Linked DNA regions of Homo sapiens: region 2 is linked to region 1. Evidence: promoter capture Hi-C in 16 types of primary human blood cells and fetal thymus (Javierre and others, 2016). All regions are on one chromosome and are shown on one strand. The core of a region is centred on a gene start or on the middle of the fragment in contact, and the rest is flanking DNA. Distances in the headings are between cores, read along the strand shown.

Evidence for each region. The method cuts DNA at HindIII sites, captures the fragments that hold promoters and counts their contacts. A CHiCAGO score of 5 or more calls a contact.
Region 2: a contact is called between a fragment that was not itself captured here and the fragment with the promoter of LMTK2 in region 1, in 1 of 17 cell types (neutrophils). The highest score is 5.5, in neutrophils.

The regions. Positions count from the first base shown.
Region 1 is chr7:98,105,009-98,108,630 of GRCh38, reverse strand. It overlaps LMTK2 (lemur tyrosine kinase 2), which reads right to left and starts at 1,769. Exons shown (of 14, transcript NM_014916.4): 1 at 1,351-1,769. The coding sequence starts at 1,453. The HindIII fragment of the contact is 4,003 bases long and covers 1-2,637 here.
Region 2 is chr7:108,517,679-108,521,300 of GRCh38, reverse strand. The region is part of intron 2 of PNPLA8 (patatin like domain 8, phospholipase A2); the gene reads left to right. Among named protein-coding and RNA genes, the nearest start is that of PNPLA8, 6.6 kb to the left of the region's middle. The HindIII fragment of the contact is 9,624 bases long and covers 1-3,622 here.

The DNA.
Region 1 (3,622 bases), core at 520-3,019:
TTCCGGGGTTGCCTATACACATCTGATAACATTTACTCTTCTTATCTATCGGATCAGAAAACAGAATTCACCTCACAAGTATTTGATCTAAGGCAGTAACAGAAATTTAGTGCTACATTATACGGTACAATGAGGACATTTAACGTTCAACTAAAGGGCACTCAATGACAAACCCTGATGTAGCTCTGGAAGCAATTACATGTAGCTTTCATCGTAGATTTGTTTGAAAAATATGTCTTTACTGGAGACAGTACATCCACATTCTGTACCCAATTAACATTATTCCAAAATAACTCTTGACCTCGAGAGTATTCCAAAACAGTTACAAGACTTAAAAAAAATCATACAACTAGGGGTATCTAAGACCTGGCTTTGGGGCTCTGCCTACAACGAAGCTGTGTCACCCTGGGTAGGTCATTTGACCCAACATGCCCAGTATCTCCTACTACGTAAAGAAGAAATTGGTCTAAATTTTCTTTAAGGTCTCTTCTAACTCTAACATTCTATGAATGTATGAAATTTCAATCTTTCCCCATTTCAAAGGTAATGGCGGCAGTCAATAACGCCAAGTTAGCCTAGATTTTTTTTTCCTTTTTAGAAAAATGACCCAACTTGGGATGTTTTCTTGGGTTGAAGTTTTATTTAGGAAAATAAACCCCAAATAAAAACGATGTTGAGAAAATGGGCGGGGGGGGAGAAAAGAAAATCATACACTGACGTTAGCTAAAATAGAAACTTCCATCACCCTTAAGCCAGTTTGTCAATAGTTATTCAACGCCTGCTACTCTAATCACTGGCTTCCTAAAATAGAAATATTTATAGTTGTTTCCTTCTCATCCCCGGAGATACATTCCGAATAAAAAGCACAGCGTCTAAAATCAATTTACAACTTCAGAATAAGTTGCAAGGAGCGAAAACAAACTCCGCACAGCTCGCCAAGTCATTTGCATTTAAGTATGATTAGGGCTAAGAAACGGTTCTTATGAGATGCGAAAAAAAAGCACAAGAGGCAGGTGACATCTGGAAAGGGAAGCTGAACTGCCAGGAAGCGATATAAGCTGAGGATCTTAAGGCAACAGGTCCAGGGCCGGCACCGCAGCCTATCCCGGGAGGGGTCGGTGGCTGCTACCTCGCCCGCCGCCCTCCCCAGCCCCAACGACGTCGCCTCGCTCCCGCCCCCCCAAATCCCACGCCCCTGCGGCAGAAATCTCCCTAATCACTCGCCTCCCTGGGCTTCCCGCCCCCGGCAGGCCCTCCGATTCCTCGGCGCCGAGGCCGGCCCGGCCCTGCCGCCCCCTCCCCTCCACGCCGAAGACCCCGCAGCCCCGTCCCCGCCGCGGGCCCGCTCACCTGCACCTGTTTGCGGAAGTGGCGCGGCCCCAGCACTGCCGGCGATCAGGAGGACCAGCAGCAGCAGCAGCAGCCTCCGCCGCAACGCCGGCGGCCCCGGCATCTCGCCCACGGCGCGGCTCCGGGGCCGGCCCTCGAGTCGCCTTCCGTCCGTCCGTCCGTTCGCCCGTCAGTCGATCCTGCCTCCCTCCGCTGCCTCAGTGGCACCCGCGCCGGTTGCTCCCGAGCACACGTTGCTTCTGCCAAACCTCGGTCCGGCTCCCGGTCCGCACCTGCCGCTCCAGTCGCAGAAACACCATCCTTCCCGCCCGCCTGCGCCGCCGCCGCCGCCTCTCAACAGCAGCAACGCCAGCAGCCCTGCGGAGCGGCGGGCCTGGGAAGCCGCGCTCCCGCCGCCATGATGGGCTGCGTCATGTGACGTAGCGCGGGGGCGGGATGTCGTGATGGACAGGGCGGCCAGCCACTCGTCAGTCCACACCGGCCCAGGAGGCCCCGCCCATCATCCTGAAGGAGTGAGCGGTGGCGGCCGGTGCGCCCCCTGCAGACGGAGGAGTGCGTGGGCAGCAGGTAACACCAACAATTATTTTAAATTGAAAAATACAGGAAAATGTAAAGAAGACCATGACAATCATCCTGATATTTTTTTCTCGGTGTTTTATAACATGCAAAAATAGGCCTGTCTTGTCTTCTGCCTTTTTTTTTTTTTTACTTGTCAGAGCTGTTTTAGGCTCTTCTCCTTAAGTTGACCTACACATCCTCTCAGCCATCAAACAGCTTTGGGCTTTTCACTTGAATTGATCAAGAGAATGCCTCTCTCGGCATCACCCACTGACTCACCTCCTGAGCTCAAGCTGTTGCCTCTTGTCCACCTGGCAGACACTCTTCCTTTCATCTGTCGAGACTCACCTGACATATGACTTCATCTATGACTCTCTAGGAGAAATGACTGTCATCTCCTTAGTGCCCCGCCCTGGCCCTGTGTGGACTGCTATCCTAGCTGCAGTATCCTATTGACCCGTGACTGTAAGCTCCCTGAGGACAGCAACTGTGTCTGATTCAGCTGGTGGGAAATCCCTGGTGCAGGACCTGGGTCGGAGCAGGTGTTCTCTAAAGCAATGGTGCATGGCCCTGGTCCCAGGTACCAGGGCAGAGCAGCTCCCAGGGGTGGCCTTCTCCCCACCAAGAGGTGAGGTGAGAACACAGTCCTGCAGAGAGGATAGAGAAAGCACTCTCCAGACACAAGTAATATAGTGGTCAGAGGCATGGGGGTTGGGAAAATGCTAAGCTTTTCTGGAGAGGCGCTATGGTTCAGTGTGTGCATGAGAGGAGCTGATTTCAATCTTATCAGATGAGACTTTGCCACCTGGCAACAGTGTAACCTCCCCAATTCTCCAAACTCCCCAAATGTCCATCCTAAATGCCAGCTGTCGATGATGTTAACACAGCACTGGACACACAGATGATGCCCAGGGAATATTTGTTGGATGATTGAGGCAAGCCAATAAATATCTAAGGAGACAAATACCTGGAACGAGAAACATTGAATTTAAAAGTCCATGGCTTGGCTGGGCACGGTGGCTCACACCTGTAATCTCAGCACTTTGGGAGGCCAAGGTGGGTGAATCACTTCAGACCAGGAGTTCAAGACCAGCCTGGCCAACATGGTCATACCCCATCTCTACTAAAAATACAAAAAGTATTAGCCAGACACGGTGACGCATGCCTGTAATCCCAGCTGCTTGGGAGGCTGAGGCAGGAAAATTGCTCGAACCCAGGAGGCGGAGGTTGCGGTGAGCTGAGATCACACCGCTGCACTCCAGCCTGGGCGACACAGCGAGACTCTGTCTTAAAAAAAAAAAAGTTCACGGCTTTCTGCTGATTATATGCAGAATTGGTAAGGAAGGCAAAGGTCTAGGAAAGAGACACAATCACCCTGTTGTACTTCTACTTCTTTTTTTTTTTTCTTTGAGACAGAGTCTGTCTCTGTCACCAGGCTAGAATGCAGTGGTGCGATCTCAGCTCACTGCAACCTCTGCCTCCTGGGTTCAAGCGATTCTCCTGCCTCAGCCTCCTGAGTAGCTGGGACTACAGGTGCCCGCCACCACACCTGGCTAATTTTTGTATTTTCAGTAGAGACAGGATTTCACCATGTTGGCCAGGATGGTCTCGATCTCTTGACCTCGTGATCTGCCCACTCCGGCCTCCCAAAGTGCTGGGGTTACAGGCATGAGCCACCGCGCCTAGCCTATACTTCTACTTCTATCAGGAAGCT
Region 2 (3,622 bases), core at 648-3,147, about 10 Mb before region 1:
ACATAGCTGGAGTTTTCATTTCTAAGATTTTGCTGTCCTTGTTTATTCTTGGTACAGTTCTCTTTTCGACTCTTTATTTTCCTTCTGTTTCATCTTTGAACATTTTAGACCTACTTAATTTTTTTCTATTTCTAAATCTTAGTTACACATTTTTTTTTCTGGCTATATTTGCTGATCCTCTCTGCAGGTGATGGTGCATTTCTTTGCATGTTTTGTAACTTCAGTGAGTTCATTTTCCATAGTGGTTGCTTGGTGTAGGATCCCATTGCCCATAGGGTATCTGCACCTTGAGGATAGTATGACTGCTGTTCCAGGCCTGTGGGTCCTCTTAAACCTGGAGATTTTTTACTGTTGACTTTGAGCATGGCTTTATTATTTTATAAAATTATTTTTTATTTTTTAAATTGCCAGATAAAGGTGTATGTATTTATGGTGTGCAACATGATGTTTTTAAGTATTATTTTCATTGTGGACTAACTAAATCTAACATATGCATTACCTCACACAGTTATTTTTCTGGTTTCATTTTACAGTCTCAGTATTCTTCAAGTTGAGCATGAATTTTTTTTTAAATGATATATAATATTTGTATATATTTATAGGGTAGATGTGATATTTTGATACATGCATACAATGTGTAATGATCAAATCGGTATTTAGAATATGCATCACCTTGAACATTTATTTTTTCTTGGGAATATTTCAAATCTTCTAGCTATTTTGAAATAACACAATATGTCATTGTTAACTATAGTCCCCCTACTGTACTATTCAAATACTATAACTCATTACTTCTAACTGTATGTTCGTACCCATTAACCAACCTCTCTTATCCCCTCCTTTCCAGCCCCCAACTCTCCCTCACACACTGTTCCTAGCCTCTGGTATCTATCGTTCTACTCTCTATCTCCATGAGATCCAATTTTTTTTAGCTCCTACATATAAGTGAAAACAGAGCATGGCTTTTTATCCACAAGTATTTTATATTAAGTGTTTTTGTGTCATTGGGGCTGCAGAGCTTTTATGTTAACTTGGCTTATCTTATTGACTGTAAGTCCCAAGGAGTTCAGAAGAGCCTTGTAGGGATCGAGGGAAAATTTCCCCTTCCACCTCTGCCGGTTTGCTGAAAATCAGCTGACAGAAACAGATTAGTAAGAGAAATGGCATACAAATTTATTAATGTGCACAGGTGAGAATCACAATGATTACTTAAATATCCCAGTGGGGCCCACATACTTATATAGCTATTTTCAGAGGGGAAGGAAAGATGGTGAATGGAGGTAATTCTCTCGAGCGGCAATAACTGATTACTAGGGAGAAGGAATGGACGGAGAGTTGGAAGGACAGAGACGAACTTGTATTCTCTTTGAAAACTGAATGAGCCTAAGAGACAGACTTTATCTTGTGAAAGTGTCCTTTGGGTGTGGTTACATTCTTCAGTCTTCTTTTCTGCAGCAAATAATAAAATTGTTTTCCCTTCTCCCTGAGGAGGAGAAGGGAAAACAATTGTTCCCCTTGGGGAATCTGTCTGGTCTTTTTGTAGATAGGGAAAAAGTCTCTTCTAGCATCTGTTGATCTCTGATGGGGCTTTAATTCAAAATACTTATACCAGGGAGCCATATTTTGTGGTAGAATTCCCTGGGCTCCTTCAGCCTGGAAGACAAGGCAGGCTTTGCTTTTTTTCTCTCTCTTCCTTTAGATAATTCTAAATGGCACATGCAATTTAGAAGGAAGGATTTTACTTCAGGCTGTTATCTTCTGGACAATTGGAATAGGTTCTCAGTTCCATCTTTCTTGGCATCATCTACCTCTCTCTCAATCTCTCTAGGTCCTGCAGTAAAACTAGACTACATGTAATCTCTGCACATACTATCTGTGCTTTCTTACATGCTTTCTTCTGTTTGCCTCTGTGTGTGTAGTTTTGTTGTTTGTTTTAGAGATGGGGTCTCTGTGGCTCACTGCAGCCTCAGATTCCTAGGCTCAAGTAATCCTCCCACCTCAGCCTCCTGAGTAGCTAGGACTACAGGCATGTGCCACCATGCCCAGCTAATTTGTTTTATTTATTTTTTTTTAAGAGACAAGGTTTCACCATTTATCTGGGCTGGTCTCAAACTCTTGGCTGTGTTTGTTTTGTTTACCGTTATTTAGAATTCTCTCCTTTCCTTCTCATCTTTACACGTGATGAATTCTCTTTTAAATTTGGCCAGTTTTTAACCTCTTTTTTTTTTTTTTAAACTTCCCTCGATTTTATCTCACTTTGTCTTTCATTCACATGGTACCTTCTGTTACAGTCCTTTAAATATTTTGCTTTTTCTAATTACAAAATAAAACCTCATTATAAATAATTCAGACACTAGAAAAGTAAAAAGTAAAAACCGTTCTCATTCCCTTTTGGTCCCATGCCTTAGTTCATAAGAATAAACAAACAGGTGCTTATCCTTTCAGAATCAATATGTGTATGTATATGTGTGTCCATAAGATTTCAACTGCATATGTAGATTTTCATTTTTTAATTTCTTAATATATGTGTGTGTGTGTGTGTATATATATATATATATATATATATATATATATATATATTCATGTGCATATAGCTTATATAGAACTGCAGATTGCTTTTTTTTAAAGACTTTTTTAAGAATAGTTTTTAGGTTCACAGGAAAATTGAGAGGAAGGTACAGACGTTTCCATATACCCCCTACCCTGACACACGCATAGCCACCTCCATTATCGGCATCACCCACCAGAGTGGTACAGTTATTATAATTGATGAGCCTGCATTCACACGCAGTCCCCCAAGTTCATAGTGTACATTTGGGTTCATTCCTGGTAGTGTACATTCTGTGGGTCTGAACAAATGTATAATTATATTTATCCATCATTATGATACTATACAGAGGATTTTTAGGGCAGTAAAAATACTGTCCTCTGTCCCCTACCTATTTATTCCTTCTACACACTGCTTTTGGCAACAGCTGATCTTTTTACTGTCTTCATAGTTTTGCCTTTCTAGAGTGTTATACAGCTGGAATCATACTGCTATGGTCCGAATGTTTGTGCCTCTCAAAATTCATGTGGAAATCATAACCGCTAAAGTGATGGTATTAAGAGGTAGGTCTTTGGGAGGTGATTAGGTCAGGAGGGTGTAGCCCTTAGGAATGAGATTAGTGCCCTTCTAAAAGACAACCCATAGAGCTAGTTAGTACCTTCTACCATGTGAGGACACGGTAAGAAGACAGCCATCTGTGAACCAGTAAGTGGGCCTTCAGCAGATACCAAATCTGTTAATACTGATCTTGGACTTCCCAGTCTCCAGAACTGTGAGAAATTTTGTGTGAAATAAATTTCTACTGTTTATAAGCTACCTAAGCCAGGCATGTGTACCTGTAGTCCCAGCTACTTGGGAGGCTGAGGCAGGTGGATTGCACGAGCCCAGGAGTTCGAGGTGGTAGTGAGTGAGCTATGATCATGCCACTGCACTCCAGCCTGGGTGACAGAGTGAGACCCTGTCTCTATAAAACACACACACACAGACACCCCATATTACATATATATGTAAGCTCCCCAGTTTATGGGATTTTGTTGTAGGAGCCTGAACAGACTAAGACACAGTATGTAGCCT